Linked DNA regions of Homo sapiens: all the other regions are linked to region 3. The links are contacts of gene promoters, found by promoter capture Hi-C in blood cells and fetal thymus (Javierre and others, 2016). All regions are on one chromosome and are shown on one strand. Each heading gives the region's core, a stretch centred on a gene start or on the middle of the fragment in contact. The rest is flanking DNA. Distances are from core to core; before and after follow the strand shown.

Evidence for each region. Contacts are between HindIII fragments. The CHiCAGO score rates a contact against its expected background, and 5 or more counts as called.
Region 1: a contact is called between a fragment that was not itself captured here and the fragment with the promoter of SSR3 in region 3, in 5 of 17 cell types (M2 macrophages, total B cells, megakaryocytes and 2 more). The highest score is 5.9, in M2 macrophages.
Region 2: a fragment that was not itself captured here is called in contact with the fragment with the promoter of SSR3 in region 3 in 3 of 17 cell types (megakaryocytes, M2 macrophages and monocytes); the score reaches 11.3 in megakaryocytes.

The regions. Positions count from the first base shown.
Region 1 is chr3:156,654,860-156,659,695 of GRCh38, forward strand. No RefSeq gene overlaps it. Among named protein-coding and RNA genes, the nearest start is that of TIPARP, 17 kb to the right of the region's middle. The HindIII fragment of the contact is 929 bases long and covers 3,123-4,051 here.
Region 2 is chr3:156,640,404-156,645,077 of GRCh38, forward strand. No RefSeq gene overlaps it. Among named protein-coding and RNA genes, the nearest start is that of TIPARP, 32 kb to the right of the region's middle. The HindIII fragment of the contact is 1,672 bases long and covers 1,191-2,862 here.
Region 3 is chr3:156,552,824-156,557,030 of GRCh38, forward strand. It overlaps SSR3 (signal sequence receptor subunit 3), which reads right to left and starts at 2,294. Exons shown (of 5, transcript NM_007107.5): 1 at 2,134-2,294; 2 at 832-958. The coding sequence starts at 2,266. RefSeq lists an enhancer at 2,153-2,232. The HindIII fragment of the contact is 5,682 bases long and covers 1,136-4,207 here.

The sequences.
Region 1 (4,836 bases), core at 2,337-4,836, 100 kb after region 3:
TTTATCAGCATATATTGATAGTATTTAAAGAAATGTCAGAAGAACTCTATATTTTAGAAGTTGAAGAGAAGAAGACTATATAGAAATAGCCAAAGTAGATGGGAAACTAGATGGGTAATGTACCAGAGGTCAAGAGAGGAGAAAGGTCAGCTGAGAAGTATGCAGCTTGAATGCTGTTGAACAATGAGCATGAGGACAAGCAAAGAGACTATTCAGTTGCATGCTACTAGGGTCACTGGAAGCTTTAACCAGGCAGCTTCAGAAATATCTAGGATGCTGAAGACGGATCAGAGAACATGGGAGAAGTATAGCATTTTGAGACAGCACAAGCAGACAACTGTCTTTGGGAGTTCAGGAGAGTACATAGAAAGAAAATTCAAGAGGAGGAGAGAGATTTGGGGGAGGGAGTTGGAGGTGAGATGTGAACTAAGTTTTTAGGTATGATGAGCTTCATTCAGGTAGCTGCAGAGCATCCAAGTGAAAATATCTTACAGAAGGCTGGATTATGACTTGAGAGAGAGCTTGGAAAGCATGCATGTGTAGCCAAAGCTGGGATAAGAATCTTTAGCCCGGCCGGGCGTGGTGGCTCACGCCTGTAATCCCAGGACTTTGGAAGGCCGAGGTGGGTGGATCACAAGGTCAGAAGATAGAGACCTTCCTGGCCAACATGGAGAAACCCCATCTCTACTAAAAATACAAAAATTAGGTGGACGTGGTGGTGCGCACCTGTACTCCCAGCTACTCAGGAGGCTGAGGCAGGAGAATCACTTGAACCCAGGAGGCAGAGGCTACAGTGAGCCAAGATCGTGCTACTGCATTGCAGTCTGAGTGACAGAGTGAGACTCTGTCTCAAGAAAAAAGAAAAAAAAAATAGAATGTTTAGCCCAGATCCGCTTTTGACATTACCCTGTCTGCTCCTATAGTCCACGCTCAAGGTCCTGACATAAAAAGGGAGATTCAACACAAAACCCCTCTTCCAGGCATAAGTCCTGGACTGCTCTGCTCAGCTAGCAACCATTGGCTCTATCTTCTCTCTAGAATCTGTAAGCCACTCAGTCCCTTACCTTGCCCTTTGACTTTTTTTTTCTGCAAGCTAAATTTCTACAAGTAGCATTTCTGGACCACAGTATGTTTTGATCTGATGGGTCACAGGCAGCCGTGCACCCTCTTAGGGACCACTGGACGTTGAAATGGGATGTGGTATGTTTCTATGTTCTTGCTCTGAATGGCACCTCACTTCTGCTTGGTTTCTGTAGGCTTTGCTAAATAAATTAGAAATTTAATATTTCCTGGGATCAGTTAGTGTGGTCTGTTGGGCCATCTGTGGCCCAAGACTTTCCTTCAATATTAGGGAGAGGAGAGAAGTTATGAAAGTCAAAGGAGGTGGGCGGACTTTTGAAAGTGGAACCCATTATGTATGACTGCTGAGTTTTCTCAACACTTTTGTGAAAATTGGTTTAATAAAGATTCCTCATGAGAAGTGCTTTCTCATGAAAGTAGCATACAAGTATATTTATAGGCTTATTTTCCTTTTTTCAAAATAACTTTAGCATACACCTACTCAAATAAGCTACCAGTCTCATATGAACTGACTCATTTGTCAATAATAAATGCAGACGCCAGTGTGGGGGCTGACTACTCCATCAAGAACACGTAAAGTATATTGTGTTTTTAGCTTAAGCATGTTGGGAAGCAGTAGACTTTTCTTTTTCTTGTTGTTCTAATGGCATCTGCTGACTCAAACATGGTTTCTCTGTCCTGAGACAGACTAATTCATTGCAAAGGGGACAAAAACACAACATGGGCAGAATGTAGGAGAGATGATTTATGGCACACCAAGAAAGGAATATCTCAACTTTATTGTATTAGTTTCCCAGGGCTGCTGTAACGAAGTATCACAACCTGGGTGACTTAAAACAACACAAATGTACTGTCTCAGTGTTGTGGAAGACAGAAGTCAACAATAAGGTGTCAGCAGGGCCGTGATTCTTCTTAAACCTATGGAGGAATCCTTCTTTCTCCCTTCATAGCTTCTGGTGGTTTTGGCCTTCCTCGGTTTACAACTGCATAACTTTAATCTCTGCCTTCATTATCACATGGCATTCTCACTGTCTGTCTCTGTGTCTGCATGTGGCCATCTTCTTATAAGGATGCCAATTATATTGTGTTAGGGACCCATCTTAACTGATTACATATATTTCCAAATTATCATGACTCTATTTCCAAATAAGATCATATTCTGAGGTACTAAAGGTTAGGACTTCAATAGATCTTTTTCAGGGGAGATACAGTTCAATCCACAACACTCATATTCACAAAAAGAAAAAAAATGAAAAAGAATAGTTATGGATAATGGGTTGAGAGGCTAGTTGACCCTATTACTGTTCTCAAACTACTACTTCTTTACCCTCATGTAACAAAAAGAAAAAAATTGCTTCCTGGGTATTCCTCCTATTTGGCTAAATTGCCCTCTCTTCCTTTCTTCAGGTAGATATGGTTATGTACCTATTTATCACTTACTACTCACCACTAAATATTGGGTAGAGGTTCTCAAATTTTGTTGTGTATTTCATACTACCTGAGAACTTGTTGAAAACATACAGAAGCCCAGGCCGTATCCTACTTCAATAAGCCTGGGCCCCTCTATCTTCTAATGGCTCTCTAGGTGGATTCTAATGCGCTCTAAAGTTTAAGAACCACTGGCCTTGGGCTTGCAGTCTTTCAACCCCAACCTTTGCCAGCATCATGGAAGAATTCATTATCTACAAAGATGACTCAGCCATCACCAAGTCTTCTCATACCTTGCCTTCTTCACCCTCAATGACCTTCTAGTCCACTCCATCAGAGCCAGCTACTTCCACAGCCACACTCTGGACCTTGTTATCATTATTTTACTAAACTGATGTGATCAGTATTATAGTGAATGAACTGAATTTTATACAGCAGAATGATAATACAAGTTTTTTTTTTTTCTCTAAATCACTCTATTAGTCCGTTCTTGCACTGCTATAAAGAAATACCAGGGACTGGGTAATTTATGAAGCAAAGAGGTTTGATTGGCTTATGGTTCTGCAGGCTGTACAGGCAGCATAGCAGCTTCTGCTTCTGGAGAGGCCTCAGGAAGCTTTCAATCATGGAGGAAGGCAAAGGGAGAGCAGACATCTCACATGGTAGGAACAGGAGCAAGAGTGGGGAGGTGCTATGCACTTTCAAACAACCAGATCTGGCAAGAACTCACTCACTATCTTAAGGATAGCATCAAGAGCAGTGGTGCTAAACCATTCATGAGAAACCACCACCATGATCCAATCACCTCCACCAGGCCCCACCACCAACATTGGGGATTGCAATTGAACATGAAATTGGGGCGGGGACACAGATCTAAACCACATCAATCACCCTTTTCCAACTCCTCTATAGGCTAGTTGCTTTTTTGTTTGTTTTCCTTGTCCCTAGTGCAGACTTACTTTCCTGGCTTCTTTCAGGTCATAAAAATTCTCCTGGTAACTCAGCCACAAGAATGGTCTCAGTTCAGTAATTAAAATGTTCAATAAAATTTGAATGACACTCATAAAATTTGAGCCTCCCCACCCCCATCTTGTTGCTGCAGCAGACTGGAAAACCTAGGGGGTGGGGAGAAGGGATGGAAATACAGACGGCTGCTTCTTCCGTCTCCTTGCTCTCTGTCCACCCACACCCACCTTCTTAAACCCCCAATTAACTACCTCTGTGCTTTCAGGGTTGGATCAGGAAAAGGGAGGAGAGGTCATCAAGGTCCCACTTGGTAGGCACAGACACAGTCACCTATGGCAGCCTCTCGGTATGGCAGAATCCTGTTGCTCACTCTTTACTTCACTGGGTATTTTTGTGAATTTCAGGGAGATACTCCCCTTGGAACATCCAACTATGCTCCCATTGTGAAGGCAATGTCTCTCCTCAGGCTGGCCCTCTACAATTCTCTCCTCAGCCCCTGGCTATCTGGTGGCCACTCCCTTCCCTGTGGTCACATACCCCCTCCAGCCAGTTTTGGAATATGAGGTTGCCCCAGGCAAGCTTCTCCACAGGCCCACATCTGGCTCAGGAGAAACAGTCACCCACCCTTGCCTCACTGCTTGTGGATGTGCAGTTTGCTCCCAGTGCCCCTGCCCACTTCTCCCCTTTCCTCCCCACCTTCTCTAACCTGGATGATTTGCACAGAGCTACTCGTACCAGTCCTTAATGCTCTTCAAACTCCAGAGGCACATTTAAACCTCGTCAGGTGGTTTCGATAAAGTATCCTTTTTATTTGAGCTAAGGAGACAGGAATGCCACTATCTTTGCCTGGGAGAGAAGGAAAGAAACACCCAAGGCACTCCAACAATTCTCCAAAGAAAACAGGTCCCCCCTATTTTCCCCCTCATCACTAGCCCTCTTCTACTACTAATTCCCTCCCAGGTTAGATTTCATGGTACATACTTTCAGTAACCTCCTTGCCAATACCATAAATTCTCTTGTCTATCTTTTCCTCACATCCATCTGGAAAAACCTCAATCCTGGATGAACTCAACAGCCCACACTCTCCATGCCTGCACCAAGGCAGCTGAGCCACTGGCAGCTGAAGTAAGAAACACAAAAGGGCAGGCTGAAAGAACTATAATTTTAAGGTCAGTCACTCTGGGCCCTCCACACTGCCAACAATGCTGTTATAGTTATTTGGCCAGCTGGCTCTCTTAGTCTCTGCAAGAGCCATCTCAAGTCTTCCACACTCTCTTCAACCTCTAATCCCCTATTGTGCTGTTCATGCTCAGAAAATGCCTCACCTTTTATTTCTTGGAGACTACAAAATTAAATAACTTC
Region 2 (4,674 bases), core at 777-3,276, 87 kb after region 3:
GTAGCACTGAAACAGCACCTAGCATATAGTAGGCATTCAATAAATGTTTTGGGGAATGAATAAATGAATTTGGCAAATTGATCTTGTCATCTCTTTGTATTTTTTGTTGTATTTCATATACATTTTATTAGCCTTTCCTGTGAATATTTTAACACCTTTTACCAAATTATAAAATCATGAATTTACATATTTTTGTTCCATAACCCAAATAGTACTTCCTACTGCACACAGAAGGTTCCTTTAAAATGAGAACAGTTTCAATAGTTCTATTCTTCCCTAGACTTCAACTCATGCACTATTTCTTTCTTTTTTTGTTTGTTTGTTTGTTTGTTTGAGATGGAGTCTCACTCTGTTGCCCAGGCTGGAGTAGAGTGGCATGATCTCGGGTCACTGCAACCTCCGCCTCCTGAGTTTAAGCGATTCTCCTGCCTCAGCCTCCCCAGTAGCTGGGACTACAGGCAACTGCCATCACACCCAGCTAATTTTTGTATTTTTGTACAGGTGAGGGTTTCACCATGTTAGCCAGGCTGGTCTCCAACTCCTGACCTCAGGTGATCCGCCCACCTTGGCCTCCCAAAGTGCTGGGATTACAGATGTGAGCCACCATACCTGGCCCCTCATGCACTATTTCTAAGGTCCAGTGGCTTGTCTTCTATTTTGCACTCAGCCATGGGTAGCCCCAGGTCTACTCAGTACTGGGAACAGGCAAGGGGATTTCCCATTTGGGTGGAATGGGCAGATCTGTTCACCAAGACAAAGTTGCAGTCAGAGACAATCCAGGCAAACAAAAAATTGTAGAAATGCAGCCTTGTTAATTTACATTTGCAAATTATGGCTTACAAATTCTCACACTCCTGCTTGTCTTCATGATGGCCTTGTGGAAAATAAAAAAACTAAACTTCCTAGATTGAATTATTGCCATGATGGATGTTAAAGGCCTCCCTCAGAAGGATTTTAGCCATTCTGGCTAATGACCATCCTCCACTTGCTTGATCCAGGGACAGCAGTGCCCACCTCACCCACCTGCCTTGAGGATATCTCTCTGAGGCATTAGAGAACAGGGAAGTGCATGGAATTAGCTCAGTACTGATTCTATTACATTACATTTCTATTATATTTAGACTCTTACTCATGGGTCCTGACAACCAATTGCTTTGTAATATATATTCTGTCTTCAGTATTACATTATAAGCTTCCTGGGGTTTTAATTAATTTATTTTTAACTTATCTCTTGTTGTAGTCATCCTTTTCTACTCCCCTCAACCCCTACCTCCTGGGGTTTTGTGTAATATCTTGCACATCGTAGATACTCTCTGTTGGATAAATGAAAGAATGTCTAGATGGTACTAAAAATAAAACAACTGTGAAGGGCTTTCTCAACCTGGGTAGGCCAGTATTCCCTCTGAACTATCTTTAGGATTAACTTGCTTGATTTTGCTTAGGCAGAACTCACCTTCTACTTCCAAAGTGTGATGGAACCAGGAGCAGTTGCTCATATCTGTAATCCAAGCACTTTGAGAGGCCAAGGTGAGAGGCTCACCTGAGGTCAGGAGTTCAAGAAGAGCCTGGCCAACATGGCAAAACCCCATCTCTACTAAACATATAAAAAAATTAGCCCAGCATGGTGGAGTGTGCCTGTAGTCATCCCAGCTACTCGGGAGGCTGAGGCAGGAGAATCACTTGAACCCAAGAGGCGGAGGTTGCAGTGAGCTGAGATGGTGCCACTGCACTCCAGCCTGGGAGACAAAGCGAGACTACATCTTAAAAAATAAATAAATAAATACATAAATAAATAACAAAGTGTGATGGGATGCTGGTCCGTGGGGGGTTGTAAGAATTTTGTGGCAAGGTAAGTGCAGAAACAGAAAGTAAGCATTTAATAACTTATATAGCAACATGACATTGTCCTTAAACCCAAGCACATGATAATGTTTATAATAATTCATTTTTATTATATTTTACAGCAGCAATTGGTCATGATAAATTAAAAACAATTAAAAAAAAAACCCTAGTTGTTCCCTATGGGTAGCAAGAAACACTGTTTTAATGAGTTTGCTTTCAGTACTTTATCAAGGTGCTCTATAATATGTGAACGCTGGGTTTCCCAAATTTTTGAACATGCTTTTGCCACGTTGCACAACATCATAACTATTTCTTTCTTTAAATAGAACTTTTATGTCTGACTTCAGTTTATTTTTTAAAATACATGATCACAACATAAAGGGAAGACCAATATCAATGGCCATGAACAGAAGTTAATTACAAAAATAAATGCAACAAAAACAAAGCAAACAAATTAAATTCTAGCCAGAAACCTGCCAAAAAGCTCTGAACATATGGCCTGTTAAAACAGTAATAATAGTAACAAGCAAGTGTTGGAAAGGTGTTCAAATCCATCAGCTCCAAACTGAAACAACCTCCTTGTTGTAATCAGAAGGAAAGAGAATTAGAGGGTCTCACTGTGTAATTCAAGGGCACTTCCTGCCCTGTCATTGTACATCCCAGAGCACTAGCCGCAGTGACCCAGTTTATGAAAGCACTGACAGTGTTTCAAAGCCTGGCATAGGATGCGTGAGACATGTTTGTTTTAGTAAATAGGTGGCATTCCCAGAGGCTACAAGACATTATTCTTTAAAGAGTCTGTGTTTCAGATGTTTGTTTATCAGGGTTTTTTTTTGTTTTTTGCAACATAGAGCACACTTTCTCCAGAAACAATGATATAAATAGGACCACAGAAGCAAGAATGCAGATGGATTACTTCACATTTGCAATGAAAAAGAGTAGCAAAGAAGGCTGTTGCAAATGTGTGGTGAGGCATTTCAAACTCACAGGCTTCCTCTGCCCTAGTGGCTGCTGGTTCTAAGCTTCTGGCAGGCAGTCCTTTCGGGAGAATGGACAGAGGGCCAGGGACAGTCTTTGGCAGACCACAGGGCTTCTGAAGTCCCTAGGAGGGAAAGTGTCAGCCCTCCAACCACTCCCTGGACTTAGCAGTTGTCACAGGAATGGCTCTTATTTGAAGCTGGGAGGCTTAGTGGTTATGGCCAGAGCAAGGAAGGTGAGCGCATACCGTGAGGAGCATCCCTCCTGCCAACCTAGAGCTTCAGGGAGTCATGGTACAATCCTACTGTCCTTCCTGACGAGAGCTAGCACAGCGAGGCTGAGTGTGGGGAGGGAGCACATCTGGAAATATCTCCAATTTATTCAGGGCAGGGGTCCCTCTCACCTCCCTGCACCTTCTTCTCAGTACTGCCTCTGCCTGGAAGCCGGCTGGAGGCATCTCCTTTACCTAGTATTTCACTCTTTCTCCAGAAGCTCAGCAAGTAGAGCTGACAGTACCCCAGGGGACTCCTACAATTTCCTCAGTCTCCAGGGAGATGCCTCCTGAATGAAACGATCTAAGAAAAGAAACATACACAAATACACACTCCTTCCTGTTCTCTCTCAAGCACCAGAATATTTTCTGCACTGGGCTCCCACACTCAACAGCCTCATTATTCTCTCTGAGATTTTCCTCTCCTTCCTCATTCCCCTGCCTCTGCTACCACTCCCACCTTCCACGCAAACACATGCGTGCCTGCACTTACACACACACTCATGCGGTTTCCGCACAGCTATCTCTGAGGGTAGGGGCAGCCACTAAACAGAGAGGAGGAACTAGATCATCTATCTTGAAAATTTGCCTCAAGCTCAGTAGGTGAACACTAAGAAAGCTGTTCTCGGAGGTACTGGAGGGCACATAACTCTTTTCCCATTCCCCTGTTGAGTGTGGGAGCCCAGAGCAGAAAATAGTTTCCTCCCCTCAACCCATCCCCCTCCATCAGTGAGCCTATAACTCATTTCAAGCCTGCTGTTGAAACCTAACTTTCCTCAGCCAGAACAGCCACAAGAAGTTATGGTTTATTTTCCCCCTCCTCCCTTGCTCTGCTCTGCCATCCCCCCAGTATAGAAGACTATGTCTGGCTTTTCTATTTTTGCTGTTGATGAGATAGATACAGTGCTAAGGGTAAGACAGTGTGTTCAAAATAGTGAGGATACATAGGATGAATTTGTTTTAAACAATATTTTAGTTATATTTCCAAATAATATGCTGAATATTTTTTTCTTCAACCTCCAGACCGCCTTTCAGGTGAAGCATCTCTAAAAATAATGCAATGGGTCCAATTGTTGATCTGAAAAAAGTACAATAAAAACACTACAAGAGCATCCAGAAGTCTGGAAACACAGGTGAAATTGTGCACTTCTTGTTTCAGATTTACAGCTAAATCCACTGCCTTAAATGTAGAGATTCATCACCTGAAACATGGTTGAAAACAAAAATATATTGAGTATTTTTTAAATGTGAATACCATAATTTTAAAATGCCATTTTCTCCTATGCTTTGTCCTGTAATTTAAAAAATTTAACAAGTGGACACTATGATTGGTGTACATTCCTGCCTACAATCTTCCAAGTTAATTGGATTAATGTAAGAGCTACTTATCTACACATAAACCATCCTATGAAAAAGGCTGACCATTTCAAATTAGGAGTGAGCTTCTAATATTTATCAGAAAATACCAAAACTGAGCTTGATTTGGAGCTTTGCATTATAGTGAAATCCTGAAGCCTCCAATAAGAGTAGGAAAGGGTCACAGTATCCTATTTCTCTTTTACTCTGAAAATAAAATTCTAATT
Region 3 (4,207 bases), core at 1,044-3,543:
CTTTCCTAAGTCTACGTGATCCTGCATTTTAACCTCTATGAAACTAGAATATTTAATTGCTTATAATTAAGGTATAAGTTTATTGTGGTGAGGCTTGAGTTTTCTTCTCTAAAAGCTGTATTTTACAGTATGTGTGATCTTAGACTATGTTAATCCTTTACATTTTATACACTTGTATGAAAACAAACGTAATTAGCATTGAAAATGACAGAGAGTTAAAAAAAAAAAAAAGCAATAAAATAAAAAGACCAGCCTGGTCAACATGGCCTGTCTCTACAAAAAAATTAGCTGGGCATGGTAGCCTGCACCTGTAGGCCCAGCTACTTGGGAGGCTGAGGTGGGAGGATCCCTTGAGCCTGGGAAGGTTGAGGCTGCAGTGAACCATAATCATGCCACTGCACTGCAGACTGGGCAAGAACTAGACCTTGTCTCAAAAAATAATAATGACAAAAAGATCATTTCTTTAACTTCCAAAAATAGTACGTGAAGAGCCCAGAACAATTCTCTCCATAAGGAATTACATTTAGCTTCTGAAATGTTAACTTACTTGGTGGGTTTGTTTCTCTGATGAACCTCATATTAAGGCCTGTGTTTAAGTGTTCTAATTCCACCCTCAAAATCTGCTTCTGTAGCCGTGTCAGAATGATCATTGTCTCTACTTCAGTTAGTTAATAATTCTTCCTAGCATCAATGTTCCTTTCCCCCAAAATGTTTATTAATATATATATCTCAAATTAATGCTTATTAAAACCAACACACACAAATGATCTTTAAGAAGACATATAAAAATATAACATGTAGTACGTACTTTCACTTGAAAAACATACTTACTTGTGCTTGAGAACAAATTTCACATTCTTGTATGCAAAGGCTACCAAATATGTGCTTACTAGGGTCATCACACTATACAAAACAGCAGACTGAATAAGATCCATATGCCATATTCGCCAGTATAACCCTGAATTAAAATAAAAGGGGGAAGGGTACAAAAAGAAGCAAAACATTACAACCCCGCAACAAAAGCCTGCGAAATTAATTATAGCTAAGCCTGGTAAAATACCAGGTTATTAGTTATGCAATCCAATAGTATCTGAGGATCTTCAGAAGCGAGATAACCAGTAACAGTATAGTCTCAAGCTTTCCAGTTCAGAACATTTGAAAAACATCACCTTCCTATTACTAGTCCAGATGAGATTTCAACTTCTAAAATGAGAACAAACTCTGGCTCAACGTAATCACAAGTCAGACTTCAAATTTCATTCATCAGGGTACTAGCATGCGAAACACAGGCCATTCCAAAATGCCACGTGCAGCCCCAAACCATAGTTTCCTTGCTGACGTGGCTGTTATCAGAACTCCAAGCAGTGCTATGTCCAATTAGTGAGCCATCATATGGCTTCACATCACGTTAATGGCACGCTGGGTTGTATAAGGACAAAAGAGAAAAATACATTTAGTTTTAAATGCCCAACAACAGTGCAGCAAAAGACAGGAGTTCTGGAAACTTGAGCTCTACTAAAAACGACCTTGTCCAAGTCTGCAGTTTCCCAACCAAGTGAGAATTCTAGAATTGGTCCAGTAGGATTATTAAAAAGTATAAATAAGGTAGATCCCTAACCCCTGGCACTTCAACCTCTCTCTTTTTGCAAAAACCAGGAAAATTATGCAATGGTGTGAAGTAGCTCACGTAAAGATGCACTTATAATTCAGTGGGTCACTTCATGGGTTTCTCACCTAACTAATTTATGCAAAATAAGTAATAAGTTTAAAATTTCGTAACGGCAAGCAACAGTTGTATAGAAAAGGGCAGAGGCAGTATGCTTGAGTTTGTCTGTTTAAATAGAGATTCGGGGCCGCCACCCCAGAACTAGTTAACCACCTTCTCCTGGGGTGGAGCTCGGGAACGTGCGTACTTTTAACAAGTGACCTCCCCGAGTGCTGCACAGGACAATCCCAAGCGACAACACTGTGCCCAAAGAAGAGGCTCCGTGCCTCCCCGAGCTCAGGGGAGCTGGAGAGATTGCCGACCCCCGGCCGGCACCCACGCCTTCCCTGCTCGCCGGGTCCTGCCACGTCCCCGCCCAGCCCGACTAGCCGGCGGCCTGCCTAACCCGCCTCGCTCCCAGCACTCACAGATGGGGATGGCAGACACGATGAACGCGTTTCCGAAGAAGAGCGCGGAGGACTTGGCCGAGAGATTGCGGCTGAAATCCTGCAGGAGCAGGTCCTCCTCAGACTGCTGTTTGGAGCTGCCTTTAGGAGCCATGGCGGAGCTGCAGGCGAGAACAGGGAACGTAGAGCCGGCCGCCAAGGCGGGCAAAGGCCCTTGACTCCGCCCCTGCGGCCGCCGTATCCGCTAACGACCCGTCAGCGCGGCGCGCGGAGGCGGGACCCGGTTTGGCGAAGAGCAAGCGTCCCCAGGATTGGCCAGCTTGGCGCCACTAGATAGGCTTCCGGGCGTGATTGGGCGAGCGGGCCAGACTTCCGGATTCCTGACAAGCCACGTGACCCACCCACCTGGAGGAGAGAGAAGGGATTTGTAGTTTAGTCGGTGCTTTAAAAAAAATTAACAAAACTTTATTGATATTCCACTTCAGAGCTGCTGACAGACTCACGAGTTCTCAGTTCTTCAGAATTCCAAAATTAAAAGCTCTTCTGGCCCCACGCCATTAGTGCCCTCTGTGCGTACCCAGGACTGAGTACGTTGAAGAAGAAAGAAGAGAAAGGTATAGCTAACTCATGTAAAATCCCTTCTCCTTTACACATCCTTTATTTCATTAAATACCTTGAAGAATCTTATGACGTGCGCATCATTACCGCCATTGCAGCTGAAGAGCCTGAGGGTCGTAGACCTGCGGTGTGGGTCTCCAAGGCGTGGGCTCTTTTCACTAAACAATAGGCCACCTCTGTAGGAAGAAGAAAATGGGACTCTTGCTTTTAAGAAACTCATGATCTCATTGATGAAGGCAATATTTAATATATGTCTGATACAAGTTACTACTATTTTATTTTATTTCAACTAGACCTATAGAGTTTTGTGGCTTCCAAAGCCATGCTAAATAAAACATAATACTAAGAACAGGTTGGCTAGGCAAGACTCCCTCTCTGAAGCTCAGAAGGATTAAGTATGTCTATTAAAACAGCTAGATTCCATTTTTAACTCAACACATTATCATTTTTTCTTCAAAAAAAAATTCAACCACATCACTCCCAGCAAATGCTACTTTTGATTACTGAGAACACTCTAGTGCATTAGGCACAATTTCCTCAACCTCCAGCCTCCTTATTAACCGTTTGGTAGATATCTTTCTTCCTCACAGTATCCAAATTGTAATCTACCTCCACAGCTTCCTATTACTAGTCCTAATTGGGCTTTTGTCTTCAATCTTTTCCAGTCTATTCTCTATACAGGTACCAGAGTGAGTTTTCCTGAAATATAAATCCTTCCATTATCTACCGCAAGTGTTCCTTAATGCCAGAAGTTTTCATTAATTCACCACAAAATGAAAAAGAAAAAAAGACCATCTAGTGAATTTTTCAGAAAATCAAAAGTATTCATTTAAAAATATCTGGGTTTATGTCTTTTTTGATGTTAAAAATGCTCTTTATTTTATTACATGGTAGTGATAGAAGAAGAAATTATTATTTTCTCTTACACATACTCCTCCCCCAGTTTTTCCTATCTCACTAAGTTGCATTCTTTTAAACTCATTTGTTGTTCTGGTTAAAATAGTGGGTTTCAACACTAATTATTTTTTTCCTTCTCCATCTATGACCAATTCATAAATAAAACTTTTTGGATCTGTCTCTATAACTAGATTTTCTTCTGCCTATTTATAAACAAACTAAGGATATAAAAAGAAGATAAAAGATAAAAATCAGAGGCTGGGTGCGGTGGCTTATGCCTGTAATCCCAGCACTTTGGGAGACCAAGGTGGGTGGATCACAAGGTCAAGAGACCGAGACCATCCTGGCCAACATGGTGAAACCTCGCTTTTACTAAAAATACAAAAATTAGCCAGGCATGGTGGCGCACGCCTGTAGTCCCCAGCTACTCAGGAGGCTGAGGCAGGAGAATCACTTAAACCCGGGAGGCAGAGGTTGCAGTGAGTCAAGATCGCGCCACTACACTCCAACTCCAGCCTGGCAACAGAGCAAGACTCCATCAAAAAAAAAAAAAAAAAAAAATCAGAAAACTAAAAGATCC